2 separate regions of the Homo sapiens genome follow, and region 1 is linked to region 2. Evidence: promoter capture Hi-C in 16 types of primary human blood cells and fetal thymus (Javierre and others, 2016). All regions are on one chromosome and are shown on one strand. Each heading gives the region's core, a stretch centred on a gene start or on the middle of the fragment in contact. The rest is flanking DNA. Distances are from core to core; before and after follow the strand shown.

The links. The method cuts DNA at HindIII sites, captures the fragments that hold promoters and counts their contacts. A CHiCAGO score of 5 or more calls a contact.
Region 1: a fragment that was not itself captured here is called in contact with the fragment with the promoter of ACSL3-AS1 in region 2 in 1 of 17 cell types (M1 macrophages); the score reaches 5.6 in M1 macrophages.

The regions. Positions count from the first base shown.
Region 1 is chr2:222,301,959-222,308,911 of GRCh38, forward strand. It overlaps CCDC140 (CCDC140 long non-coding RNA), which reads left to right. Exons shown (of 2, transcript NR_161172.1): 2 at 1,788-3,259. Among named protein-coding and RNA genes, the nearest start is that of PAX3, 6.4 kb to the left of the region's middle. RefSeq lists enhancers at 4,742-5,277, 5,278-5,812. The HindIII fragment of the contact is 2,592 bases long and covers 2,521-5,112 here.
Region 2 is chr2:222,914,560-222,922,129 of GRCh38, forward strand. ACSL3-AS1 (ACSL3 antisense RNA 1) reads right to left here and starts at 5,042. Exons shown (of 3, transcript XR_923949.3): 1 at 4,980-5,042; 2 at 4,671-4,800; 3 at 2,095-3,230. It overlaps ACSL3 (acyl-CoA synthetase long chain family member 3), which reads left to right. Exons shown (of 17, transcript NM_004457.5): 5 at 1,760-1,937; 6 at 3,487-3,596; 7 at 4,505-4,643; 8 at 6,721-6,871. The HindIII fragment of the contact is 9,982 bases long and covers 1-7,570 here.

The sequences.
Region 1 (6,953 bases), core at 2,567-5,066, 610 kb before region 2:
AGTGGGACTCTCCACAACGGTGTTGTGAACGAGTGTAGGGTCCACTCACGCTCTGTGCACGTTCGAAATGAAACGGGAGCCTTGAAGACGATATTTGGATAATTTGACAAAAAAAAAAAAAAGGTGGGCGGGGGAGATAGCTTCTATTGTCCCCTCTGCGCCTCTGCCCCCAGTTTCAGAGACACTACAGGTGAAAATAACAGCGGGCTGGCTGTCCAGGCCTGAGTGGAGCGTGCCCTTGTTAGCTTGAAAGTTCTCCCTCGCAGCCCGTTTGGATGCGTGCGTCTACAGCCCAGTCGCACTTTGGTGACCGGCCTGGGCTGTGAAGCACCCTTTAGCGAACAGCCTCCGCACTTGGGGACACTGGCACAAGGGTTTCATGGCCCGTGGACTTCTCAGGGCCTCTGAGGGTTGACTTCATACTCAGCCAGACACAGGTCTTAAGAGGAAATTATGATCTATGCAAAATAATGTCCCTGACCTAGTGGGGAGCGGGGGTGGTGTCTGCCACCCAGACCTTTTTCCTCCCGTCTGAAGGGCCGAGCTCTGGCAGGCTGACACGGTCGAGCAGAGAAGTTCCTGGCCACCCGCCCGGCCCCAGGCGTGATTCTCAGGATGCAGTAAAAGTTGGGCAAACGCCGAGAAACCCTCAATCCCACAGAAAGGCTGCCGGGGGCTCACGGGGAGGACATCAAAACGCCAGGTTCGTGATCATGAGCTTCCGGTCCGGATGTGATGATACAGGATTGGTGAATGCCCGGGTTAAACCCGTGGTCCTTCGCAGCCGCTGCCTCAGTGACAGTCATTAGGCCCCCCGCAGTTATTTGTCAAAAGCATTGGCGCCGCTCTTCTCCCCATCGAAAAATCAGTCGGGATGAGTTCGGATTAAGGGACTAGATGAGGATGTGGACATCCCATTGAAACATGGTGTAGGCCAGCCGAAGTGGGTTTGCTCCTTCAGCTGGGGGAGCCCCAGGGAACGTGTGAGCGGGTTTACAATAAGGAACATATGGTTTGTGGGAAGATAGGAAGAGAGAAGGAAAATAGGAAAGGAAAAAGAAAAGAGGAAAAGAAGAGAGAGGTACTTTTTTTTTTAAAGGCAGTGAGGGAGGGAGAGAAGAATAAATCTCACAGCAGCTGGTGTCCTAGTTCATTTGGGTCTGAGAAAATTATTTTTAGGCAAACAAGGAAGACAGGATTCCGCCGCCCGATTCTCCAGGGCGGGAAGAATAGGATGTCTTGTAAAAAATAAGTAAGTCCTGTCTAATCTTCCAAAAAATGTTCTGCTCAATTAGGTAAAAGTTCATGGTGGGGTGGGGGTGATGTTTAGAAGACAGATTCTTCGGTAACTGCTCTTTGGTGTGTGTATTCGGGGTGTGTGTATTCGGGGTGTGTGTATTCGGGGTGTGTGTATGTGTGTGTGTGAAAGAATCTGGTGTGTGTGAAAGGGGTAAGGGTTGAAGGACCTTATTTAGCTGGGGGACCGTCTTGTATTGGGAGCGGGCAGCCTAGGCCTTGGAAAGACCAGAAAATCTGATCTGTGCGGAGGCAGGTGAAGGCTGTGAGTGAGGTGGGGGCGGGAACAGAGCTGGAGGAAGTGAATAAAAGAAACCTTGGGGTCCGTTGGTTTCCTTGACTCGTGGAGCAAAAAAGTAGGCGAGTGACCACTCCAGGAACTCCTGCCTCCGGGCGCCGGTACATAAAGAGCTGGGGCTGTGTGTCCTGCTCTTGGGGGAGGAGGGTACTGGGAAGGGGGAACTAACAGGTCTTTCTTTCGCTCGGATCAGGACTGGACTCCTTCTGACTCCACGCGGCCCCAGCTCCTGAACCAGCGCAGTGAGCCTCAGCCGCTTCTCAAACTGGGTCTCAGAAAATTTCTCCTCGAGATGGATTTCAGCGGCAGGAAAGAGGGGCCAGTGACGCGAGGAGCAAGAAAAGAGTAACATGGGAGATGAATGTTCAAACCCAGATCTCCTCGCTGAGCCTGGAAGCTCGCCACCGTGGGATCACGGGAACCAGAGGCAAGAGGCTGCGAATGAGTCCAACACCCGCGTTCCTCGAGTTTTAAAAGCACACCTGGGGCCAGAGACTGCACAGCCAACTAAACGGAGTAAACGCAACAGGTGGAGGAGGCAGAGTTGTCAGGGGCCAAGCCCGGCGCGATCTGGCCAGTTCTTGGGGAGCGCGGACCTGGGACTGCAGAGAGGCGTTTTGAAGAGTGCTGCGCGCACCTGCCTCTCGGAGATATCCAACTCCACCCGGGCGTCTCCTGAGAGCGCACAGTCCACAGACCCCGGGAGGGCTGCCCGCCCTAGGACACGTACTCTCCCGACCCCTCACTCTTTCAAAATTGGGGAAGAGGCGGAGGAGATGAAAAAGAAGAAAGAGAGAAAGAGAAGAAAAGAGAGAAAGAAGGAAAGAAATTTTAAAAAATAATAAAAGGAGGGAAGAATGGAGGTAAAACGCGGGGGAGAGAAGAGGGGAGAAACTCTCCTCACCACAACCAAAGCAGGAGGCCTAAGCTTCCTGAATTTCTACACATGACTTGCATTAAGTTCCTTCCTAGAACTTAAACTTTTTCATCTCCCGTCACCCAAGAAAACACCCATTTCCTCTTTTAAATAAAGTTTCTTTTTCTGGAGATGAACCTTTAAATAAGTCGTACGTTTGGGAGCGAGGGACAGGAGAATAATTTTGATCCAGAACCTTGGAGATTGGAGAAGCAGGTGGAAAAATTCTAAAAAGATGAAAACTGACCATCTCCGACACAGAAACCCATCGAAAGGGGCCACCGAGACCCGTTGATTAGCTGGAGGGAGCATGCGGCAGAAGTGCAGACCCCTCGCTAACCCGCCAACCTCCAAGAGCCCTCTTGCAGAAAGCTGCCCGGCTCCCCACGGTGGCCCTGCGCGCGCACCATCCTCGCGGTCTCGCTTCTTCGCCCCGGAAAACTCTATGAGGGGCACCCCAGCCTCAGCCGGGTTAAGACAAGTAGCCCCAAGAGGAAGGAGCCTCAGAGAGCCTTTCTTCCTGTTCTTCTTCGTCTTCTTTTTTTTCTAAACGAAATCTAATACTATCTGGCTGCAAAAATATATTATCACCGGCTCTCAGCCTAAGAGACTAACATTTGGATATGTAGGAAATGTAATCTGCATGGCTAATTGATTCTCAGCGTATCAGTTTAAAGGATAAAGATCGATATCTACATGATGGATATTGTATTAATAGGGGCATAAATAAAGGTCGAAGAGTCGTTACCAAAACCTTTGAAGCCGCTTTTCGGCTCTCGGGCCCTCCACGCGGCCAGTGGGTCTCTCCCACCTCCCCGCCCCCAGCTGCTGCTGGGCAGGGAGCATTTGCTTCCCCCTCCAACCCGGGACCAGGGTGGAGGAGTCTATGGTTAAAGCGAAAGTGTTTCACTGCGGCAACGCTGGGGAAAGGAGGTTCTTTTTTCCTGGGCTGCAGCAGGTGGACAGTAAGGCCCGAGAAAATGTAATATTTTAACAAAACGCACCACTCCCCGAAACACACGTATACGACCCACACAGGGACACAAACAACCACACATGTACACACACACACACACACACACACTCACACACACACAATCACGCAGGGCGGGGAGGGTTCTCAGCGTTCCCTGAGCGCCCTTTGGCCTTAGAGACAGGGAATAAATTCTTCTTTCCATCCCTCGGCCCCCTCCCAGAGGGCAGCGACGAAAGCCCTGGCCGAGCACAAGGATCGGTGATCTGGGCTCCTGGAGGTACCCTCTAGATGGGGTAAGGACGGGGAAGGATCAAGAGGTTCTGCGGGAAGTGTGCGGGGCTGGGGGGCGGGGGTGCCCGCCAATGTCCGCAGAAGGCAAGGAGGCCCACTCGAGGAGGGCTGGATGGAGACAGACTTGAGTCGGGCCCTGAGCCCCAGGGAGTGCGGCCCGGTAGATCTCGGGGCGAGGGGAACAGGATCGGGTACACTTGATCCGGAACAAGAACGCCTCGGCCTGGCGGTTGCCCGTTAGTCCCGGATCCCAGCGGCCGCTTCACCACTGAGCCCGAGCCGCCGAGGGAATTTTCCAAATGCAAATCAAACACCCTTGGCGCCCCGCTTCTTCATTAATTAAGAGGAACGTTTCGACAAAACCGGCGTAATCTTTATTAATTACGCAGCCCTTAGCGCGCCGTTCGCATCAATCACGCCCAAAGCGAAAGTGCAGGGGGCGCCTAATCCCTTCCCAGAGCGCGTTTGGAGAAGGAGCCGCGTGGCCGGCGTTTCCACCGTGACTTCCACCTTTCTGGGCTCGCCTGGCACTGGCTGCTCAGCCGGCGCGCAGGGAGGCCTTTCCGGAAACACCGGCTGGCTGCGCGCTAGCAGGACCGCTCTAGATCCCCTGACAGGCCGGAAAATAACCCCCACTCACTATTTGGGCACGCGCTCGTACGCAGAAACTCGCACAGGGACTCGCGTGGACACTTTATGGCCCATTTCCTCCGTCCCCTCACCCTTAGGCTCAGTGGGGACCACGCGGTTCTCAGTCCTCCTCTTCCCTAGGACCCTCTAAAAAGGAGCCTGGGGCGAAATGACAGAGGGAGGCAGAAAACCTCCTGTTGCCCCAGGACGCCCCGAAAAACTGCTCTGGGGGATGGGGCGGGGAAGACCTTAGAAGTTGTCAGGGCGACCAACTCCTCCCAGGTGACCAGGTTGCCATAGGACCAGCACACTGCTCAGGAGTGAGTTTTGGGGAGAGAGAGGGATCCTCCAGTTATTGCCATAGAGAACCAGGAAAGTTCGCAGCCTCCGGGTCGCAAGTGGGAAAGTTGACTGGAGATTGCGGTTAGAGGGGGTGGGTGCAAACTCAGGGTATTTCCGGGTAGCCCCGCAGCAGTCTTGTCCGCTGAAGGCAGGTTACCCTGGGCTTTCAAGGGAAAACGCCTTGGGGCGGGGTGTCCTGTGCGACCACCTCTCTCAGCAAAGCAGGGTTTGACCTCTTGGCCTGACCTTGCTCCCTAGTCCCACCCTATACTAGTAGGTCCTAACCTTTCTGCGCTTTGAGCCTGGACCATCGTCCCTTCAAGAGATTCTACTGGATAAAAAAAAATTATAAAAGCTGGATCAAGCTTGGCGTCGGAGGTCTGGCCCTCAGCTGGTTCCCACCCTAAAGGACTGGCCTGCCCACCCTCACGTCCTCGGGCGCCCTTGGCTCGAGGGCCTTTCGGAGCCTCCGCGGGAAGCAGAAAGTCGCACCTCACACTGAGCCTTTCCTTCGAGCGCTCTGCCGGGAGCTACTGAGCCCCAGCACGCAGCCTTGGGCACCCGGTGGCGGGCGAAGGAACCTGCCCCATTGTGCTGCTGGGCTGCACTAGCGGAGACGAGAGTGCGTGTGGGAGTGGCCCACTAGCACCACCCGCCAGGGTTTAGCAGCGCCTGGAGCACCTCCCTCTTCCCTGCTGTTTCCTTAATGCTGGAGCTGGGCACACTCCGATGTCCCGCATTCTCACATTCAATCATTCATTCTCCCTCTGAAAGTTCTCAGGCTCCTTTGCTCACGGGTCGTCTCTGGACCTGAGACACCTGCGAACCTTGCGGATCACCAGATTGTTTTATTGTTCCTCTCTTCCCCCACTGAATCGTCGGCCGGGCTAGTCTTCCAGTTTCGCCTGGAGTCGATTGCACTCTGGCGCACGTGGCCTTTCACTTACTCCACATATACTTATTGAGCTTCTACTACGTGCCATTCAGAGTGCTGGCACCACAGCAACGAAACAGACCAAAGTCTTTGCCCTGGCAGAGCTGATGGTCTAGAAAATAGCAAAAAAATAATATAGAAATGCACCCTGCCAGGAGATTGGTTGTAAGACTGAGGTTCAGCTCTGGAGAAGCTTGAAAGACCAAGGGTGGGGTAGTGAGTGGGCGGGTAAGAAAGGCTGGGGTGCAGTTGATATTTCAGCAGGAGTGGTCTGGGCAGGCTCTACGGAGCTGTAGCTCCTTGCAGAGAAGGGAGAGAAGGAAGGAGTGTTGGCTGAAGGAAAGGCAAGGAAAAAGGAAAGTGATGAAACCATGTGGTCCACAACAGTTTAGTGAATGCCTACTGTGCTGTGGCAGTCTGAGGTCCTGGAAAACTCCTGGCAGGGCCTGGGCAGCCAAATCTGCAGATATGCTTCCCTCCAAAAGAGGTAGTGCTTGCCTCCTCTGCGGGCCCAGCATCTCTCTAGATATTTCCCATTGTCTTCTTTGGGAAGATATTTCAAAATGGCTATGGGAGTGACGGGGGACTGAACCTTCTGGTGGACCGGCTGAGGCTCCCTTGAGCTCTGTTCCTCTCACCACCTCCAGGGGTAGGGTAGCTGTCACTGTTGACGTGCCAGAGGTATGAGCCTCCTCCCTTCCGGTGATCGTGGCTCAAAAATCCAGGATGGACCTGGGCCTCTTCATCTAGCCCCCATCGGCTGAAAAGTGCATTTTTATTTGACAGAAAATGACAGCGCGCCTTCTTGGTGTCCAGATCCCCACTCTACAGGACCTGTCACTCCCATTTCCCATACGAGAGGAAACTCCCTCCAAGGCAGGGGAGATGTTGGGAAAGCTAGGAGTGCCCTGCTCCACATTGTGGCGGCAAGTCTGTGTTTTCCTCCTGGGTGATTTGGAGGAGCTACTACCACTTTGGCAGTGGGAGGGGTGTGGAAGACTCCTCTTTCCAGATAATCCAGAGGAGCCCAAGGCCCTAAAGAACTAGTCATCATTCCTTGGCTGGTATTTCTGTGAGATAAATGGAAAATAAACCAGCAGGAAGAATTCAGGAGGAAATATTTTCACAAGGTTTCATAGGTTATTACAAAGTCTTTGAACACATCTTTGAAAGCCTAAGAAGTCTGGGACCAAGGAATGCAACAGATGAAGTGGAGGCAACAGTGTGTTGCCCTGCAGTAGAGGCTTGAAAAAAGTAGAGGCTTGAAAAA
Region 2 (7,570 bases), core at 3,792-6,291:
CCAGAGGAGGCTATTTGAATAGAGAGAAGGTTTCAGAGGTATTTCAGAGGGTGAGAAAACGAATAGACCAGGGATGTATGATAGGATTGCTTCAGGGTGTTGAGGTCCTAGATTTAATAAGGTTGGCTGTTCTGCAGCAGTGTTCAATGATATTGGCAAGGAATAAATAGTTTAATCTTGTCTTGGGCTAGCCATAGGGACAAAGTTAGGATTAGAAACTTTTCCAGCACAAATCAGATACAATATAGAGTGGGTAGTGTCCTCTAAATGTAATATTTATGAAAAACATAATTACTAGATGATTCAGTGGTTTAAAGAATTAAAATCATGAGATTCAGATTTCGTTTTATATTTTATTTTTTACATATGTGGAAATCTTACGCTCATTTGATTCCTTTGCCACATGGTGGCATCATTGCATGAGTTTACATATTTAGATTATATATCAAACACCTTTTCAGAACACACATAGTCTTTGAAATTTATAAATCCTGTCACTTACATATTAGAATCTGGAAGGTAGTGCATTCTTAACCTTTAGAGTGTAAAATTCTTAATAATTATAATCCAGTTCCTGCACATTTTGGCCAAGTTGTCATCTGTCTTCTAACCCTCACAGAGCTCCTTTTGAAGTCATTGGAGCTCCCTGTGCTGAGCATTTCATGGGGGTAAAGAGCAAGGTGAGAGTTTGGGACCAGTAAAGTAAATAAGTACCATCTTAAATGCAGTTGCTTTATCCATCAAAATAAAAATTTATTTCTTAAATGCGTAATTGCATGGGACACTAGATGGCAGCATTTATCCTTTTCCGTTTTTATCCAACCTCTTCTAGAAATTTCTTAAATGTTTACATTTATAAAATGAACATGGTCAGATGATTTTAAGGTGTTTGAGATGTATATTACTGACACAGCCATGTTTGGGAATTAATTACCTATATATTTTTGCAGAGAGAGGAGCTTTTTATACAGTCCGTATGTAATTAGGGATTTATGGTTTTGTCTAAGTTGAGGAAAATTTCTAAAGACAATATGTTAAAAAACTTCAAAAGGGAGTTTTTACTAATGCATATTTGGTATTACCAGCACTTACGATAAACAGATAAAATATTGAAAACCTGGCGGTGCCAGTAAGCATTTAAGGCTTGAATAGAGGGACTTTGAATAATATAACTAGTCCACCTGGTTATGTAAACAGAAACTTGTTTACTTTGCTTTTGCTTATCCAGAGTTTGGTATGGCAATTCAAGTTCAGCAATCATAAAGATTTCTGTTAGCTTGGATAGAGAAAGTTTCTGTGAATCATTTTATACCGTCTGATACTGACATTTAGGAATTCCTAAATAGAGAGAAATTAAAATTTTGGCATCTGCGGTACTTGGTACTAGGCTAAATATTAAGTTAACACCTACATCATTTAAATAGGTGAAATTTATAAGTAGATTATTAGTGTATGACCATTTGGCCAGGCAGTTGACCTTTACGAGCCTATCAAACTCTCAATATTTTTGAAAACCAAAAATAAAGCCAAAAAACCCCCCAGTTACAATATAAGATTTGAGTTGTTATAGAAGATGTCACAAAATAGCTAATTTTTAAAATAGATTTTTCACTCAAACTCAGTTTCTGGCTTTTTATTAAAAAGATAATTCTATGCAAACGTAACTTTCTGGTTCATCATAACATTTGGACGATATTCTGGTTTCTTCTGTAAATTATTATTTTGATTACATTAAAAAAATTTTTTTTTGTTTTATCAGGTTATTCTTGGACAGTATAATTGGCTTTCCTATGAAGATGTCTTTGTTCGAGCCTTTAATTTTGGAAATGGATTACAGATGTTGGGTCAGAAACCAAAGACCAACATCGCCATCTTCTGTGAGACCAGGGCCGAGTGGATGATAGCTGCACAGGCGTGTTTTATGTATAATTTTCAGCGTATGTAGACTTTCTTATCTTCTGGAAGAATGAACTTAACTGATATTTATTGAAATACTTTACTCTGAAGAGGTTAAAATTCTGATGTTAATTTTCACCCAGTGTCCAGTTAGTGGAGAACTCTGTTGTGACTTGGAATTTTTGGTTTATTTTGGAAAATAAATCAATTATATGACAAATTGTACCAATCAGTGTTGCAGTGAGGCTTGAACCTCTTCATGGGAGACTTTCAGGTCTTGAGAACTAGACCTACACTTAGGGGCCGTTGTTCCAATACCATTTCTCAGGAATCCTCTTTAGAAGTTACTGTCAATTTTGTTCTGTCACCTCTATCAGTAACAACAGTTGACCTCCGAAACACTTCCATACTGAAACCTGGTGAACTTCAAGGTGCAGGTTAAACAATAGAGTTTTCATATTGTAATTATCTGAATGGTAATTGTGGTGGCTCAGTCTGTGAGATAGTTCTGGAAGCATAAGTTCAGAGGTCTCGGTGCCAAAATGTGACAGTAATTTGTGGATGTTTAGTCTCATCCTTCAGATGAAACAGAAAATACACTTTCACCAGATTTCTTGCTGTAAATTCCTCCACCTTTTCTTTTTCTTTTTTTTGAGATGGAGTCTCACTCTGTCGCCAGGCTGGAGTGCAGTGGCACAGTCTCAGGTTACTGCAGCCTCTGCCTCCCGGGTTCAAGCAATTCTCCTGCCTTAGCCTCTCGAGTAGCTGGGACTGCAGGCGCATGCCGCCATGCCCGGCTAATTTTTTGTATTTTTAGTAGAGATGGGGTTTCACCCTGTTGGCCAGGATGGTCTTGATCTCCTGACCTTGTGATCCGCCCACCTCGGCCTCCCAGAGTGCTGGGAATATAAACGTGAGCCACCGTGCTAGGCCTCCTACACCTTTTCTTTTAAACAAACATTCCATTTTTGTTGTCACAGGTTTGGATTTACATTGTTTCTTTTGAGGAGCTTTAAAAGAATTATTTTCAAAGTCATTTTGTGTATCTTTTTTGAGTTAGGCAGAAAGTAAATAAAAATCTACACTATTCATGTTATGTAATTTCAGCATTTCAGAGAATGTTTGTCTTTAGATATTTTTGCTTGAGAATAAACGGTACTGCCACTTGTTTGTGCTCTTTTCTTGACATACACCGTAAATCTGACATTCAGTGTGTCATCCTATTTGTATATGTTCTTTTTCACATTGTAAAGCCAAGTGGCCAACAATTAAGAATTTGAAGTCTTAGAAATCAGTTATAATTCCTTCACAATGTGGTAGTCCCAGAGTAACATCTGTAAGTGAAACAAAATAAAAATTTAAATATCTTCATCTTTAAAAATTGGAAATCTTGGGGCATTTAGGGGAGGATGAGTAGGTGTAATGTTGATTAGTATGATAAGATAACTTTAAAAAACATAACACTTATAGACTGTGGATTTAACAGTTTAGGGCTCCTAATGCGTTATTATGATTCATCTCCACATTCAGAGACTTTACATTTGTAGTTAAATGTTTGAATATTTGACTGGCTGCTGCTTTTCCTTTTAGTTGTTACATTATATGCCACTCTAGGAGGTCCAGCCATTGTTCATGCATTAAATGAAACAGAGGTGACCAACATCATTACTAGTAAAGAACTCTTACAAACAAAGTTGAAGGTGAGGACTCTAGTTACTTTCTAACTGTCTGATACTTTAGAATTTTCAGTGTCATGAGCCCTATTATTGATACTTAGTTCTTTTATGACTTTTAAGTCCTTAATCTTTGTGGACTTTTATGAATATCATACTTTATTTTTTCCTTTAGAAAATAAAAAGTAGATTTTGTATATATTCATGTATAAGTAATCCAGAGTTATAAATTGTTAAGATGCCTATGTTTAAATTGAAGAAATTACGACTACTTTTTCTCTTATTGTGCTCATCTATTTTCTAGTTTACTTTTAGTAAATTTGTAATTTTGAAGGGTTATATTTTAAACTAGTAATTTTTATTTTACTTCTGAAGCATTAAGTAATTACAAGTTTTCAGAATTGTTTGGAAGTTAAAAAGGGAGACTTTTAATTATATTACAGTAAAAAGAGTTTCTTTGGTCTCTAGACAACTCCCAGAAATATCTGGGCTATTCTATATGGGGGAAGGAGGAGAAAATTCACATGTAAACTTGTTCAAAAAGAAAATTTTGAACAAGTTTGCATGTGAATTTTCTCCTCCTTCCCCCATATATTTTTATGTAGTCTCTTGAAAATATGAGGGGCTTCTGGTTTCTCTACAGTTTAGGCAACCTGTGTTTACATGCCCGTTTTATAAGGCAGTACCCTTCTTGATCAGGGTTTTACCAAAGGCCAAGGGTACACACAGTGAATCTAATGCTATAAAATAATAATTTAAATTCAGACCAATACTTAATCATCTGTAAAAAGTGATATTATGCCAGTGTACCCTTTCTTCTTTCTTTTTTGAGGCAAGAAATTACTTAATGATTCACCGAATATGGTAAACTAGTATTCTTATTCGCTAAGCTGCTTGAAAAATAATGAACGTGATGAATGTTGGTGTATTTCTAGGATATAGTTTCTTTGGTCCCACGCCTGCGGCACATCATCACTGTTGATGGAAAGCCACCGACCTGGTCCGAGTTCCCCAAGGGCATCATTGTGCATACCATGGCTGCAGTGGAGGCCCTGGGAGCCAAGGCCAGCATGGGTATGTTACACTTTTCTAATTCCTTACCTGTGCTTTCTGGTGACCACATTCTCCAGAATTATGCCAAAGTTTTGATTCTGAGGTTAGCTCAAATGACACATCAGTTTTCTAACATCAGTTAGGAAAACAGGTCCCTCTAGGTATACTTTCATCTTGTCTTTAAAGAAAGTTTTAAGGAAAAATATAAACATTAATTATTAATGTTTTAAAGGTAGTATTTATTTGAAATTTAAAATATTTTACATTCAGTTTTCATTTCTTTTTTATGGTGATAGTTTTGGGTGGTTTAAAGTTAGTTTATAAATAATGACATTTATCTTGTCCTATGTGAATTACCTGTAAGTGTTAACAGAGTGGCTAAACCTGGAGGCCTCCTTTTACTCCCTGTTCCAGTTCTTCCCTTTCCTGAGGTGAAAACCTTACCCTCCAACTAGCACACCTAGGCATGGTGACTCTACAAGTTCCTATTCTCAAAAAAGCGTCAGAAAATGTTAGCTAGTGTACTAGTGTTTAGAGATACTGCAAAAGCTGCTGGGATGCTGGGACTGCATTTCCTCTGTAGTTGGAAACCTAGTAATTAGATGTAAGCATTCACTCAACTCAAATTTTAGGCACCTGGAATTTGAGTGGTAGTGGGATATTTAGATGCAGATATATTGTGGACAGTGGTGTGTAAAAGTCTAGTACTCGAGTTATGTTTGGACTTAGAGATTTGGAAGCTAGAAGCAGTTAGGTTTTAATTATAGCTGTGGGAGTAGGGGGTGAGGTCACCAACAGGGAATGGTGGCTTCAGAGGCTACTAAGGACTAGTCAGAGAGGAAAGAAGAAAATATCTAGTAGTATGTGGTTCCTGGAAGCCAAGGGAAAGGAGATCTTGGTGAGTCATCAGCAGGATCAGGGGCTGCATGCAGAGGTCAGATGACACAAGGATTGTAATTTCCAAGAAGTGGTGGTGTTGGAGAAGGGTGCTGTGCATTGAAGGAGTGAAGGGCTGATTTGGAAGTAAAGACTTCCAAGTGTAAACATTATTTAAGAAATGTATCTTGACTGACAGGAGAGGAAGGGTATTCTATTGGGAGTACATTTAAATAATTTTTTCACACTCATTTAGAAGTTCACATGTAGAGTAGTTCTGGGAGTGGTTCAGACATATCAGCAATGCCAACCATGACCTATTTCTCTTTGTTCTTCTGCTGTGCCACCTCTATAGCTTCTCAGCTGTTGTCCTTAGGCTGGTACTCTTCTGATTTCAAATGGTTCACATCGTGTTTTAATGCAGGACTCTGAGTGTAACCAAGTTAGTCACCATTCTGAAGCAGTGAATAGTTTTTAGCAAACACCTAGATACTCTAGTCCAAAGCTACCTTTATTTCTTAGTTGAATTACTGGGATAATCTTGTCTCCCTGATACCTTTTTTCCCCTTGTAAAGTTAGTTAGCCACACAGCAGCCAAAGTGATCTTTTTTTTCACAGATAATAACATACTCCTGTTCAAAACAACATTGCTTTACATCCAGAACGTAATCCAGAGTTCTTCCCGTGGCCTTTGAGGTCCTATGTGTGGTCCCTGATAGCCACTTGACTATTGTTTCTTGCCACTCTTCCTCTTGCTCACTCTGTTCCAGCCACACTCCTTGCTGGTCTTTAGATATGCTGAGCACATTCCTACCTTTGGGTCTTTGCATTTGCTTATTTCCTTCTAATTAGAACACTCTTCTCCCAGTTCCAGGGTTTCCATGGCTCCCTTCCTCACTTTATTCAGGCCTTTGCTAAACGAAACTCTACAGAGACGGTCTCCAGGCTTTTCCATCCAAATAGCATCTATTGTCATCTTCTCACCTTGTCTTGCTTCAGTTTTCTTCATAGGTTAATCTGTTTGTATATCTCAATAGAATATATCTCCCATACGTGCAGGGACTTGATCTGTTTTGTTGATCTCAGTATAACTAATATTTGTTGAATTGAGTTAAATTAACTCAATTTGATTGAGTTATTTATTTGATGATAATGAAAAGAAATTGTTGATACAGCTGAATCTCATGAAAGTGTATGTGTGTGTTTTTTCTCTTCAATGCAGAAAACCAACCTCATAGCAAACCATTGCCCTCAGATATTGCAGTAATCATGTACACAAGTGGATCCACAGGACTTCCAAAGGGAGTCATGATCTCACATAGTAACATTATTGCTGGTATAACTGGGATGGCAGAAAGGATTCCAGAACTAGGGTATGTCATAGTAAAGTAACATTGAGTAGTTAAGTATTTATGTCTGTTATAATGTTAGCATTTGTGTCATTTTATTAATATATGGCTAAATTAGTCCCTCAGAGTCTGTTTGTAGTAGGCATTTCCTTAAAAAATAAAAAAGGACATTAAAATTAATGGCAAAATAGTTATAGTTGTGAGGTTGAAAATATATCATATAGATATATTTTAAAAAGTACAGAACTTAAATTTGTATAGTTGTAAATCCTTTGTTTTAATCAGCTTGTATTTGCTGCTGTAGTTTTTTTTATATCTAAATACAATTCAGGTGAACAGGTAACTTAATTTATCCACTAAGTATTTGTTGAGCTTCAGTATTTGGTCTCTGATTTTTCTTGTTAATACAAACTCCAGTGGTAGCAGTGGAAGGTAGAGTGGAGTGGGGAAGAGACTGATGGAGGAAACCAGATGGAAGTTTGAGGGACTGTCAAGGAAACATTGCCAGAGATGCAATTGGTATTCTGATGACCGATAGGGTACAGTGGTTGGATATTTTTGATGCTTTTATGCACAGAAATTACAAACATACACGCACACACACACTCACGTAATTGCTATGGTACTGAACTTGGGGATGGAGGAATGTCTCTTACGTATGCATACATTTCAGAAAAAATTAAGTGCAACAATTTTCTTACAGGTTTGCCTCAGTTACCTTCT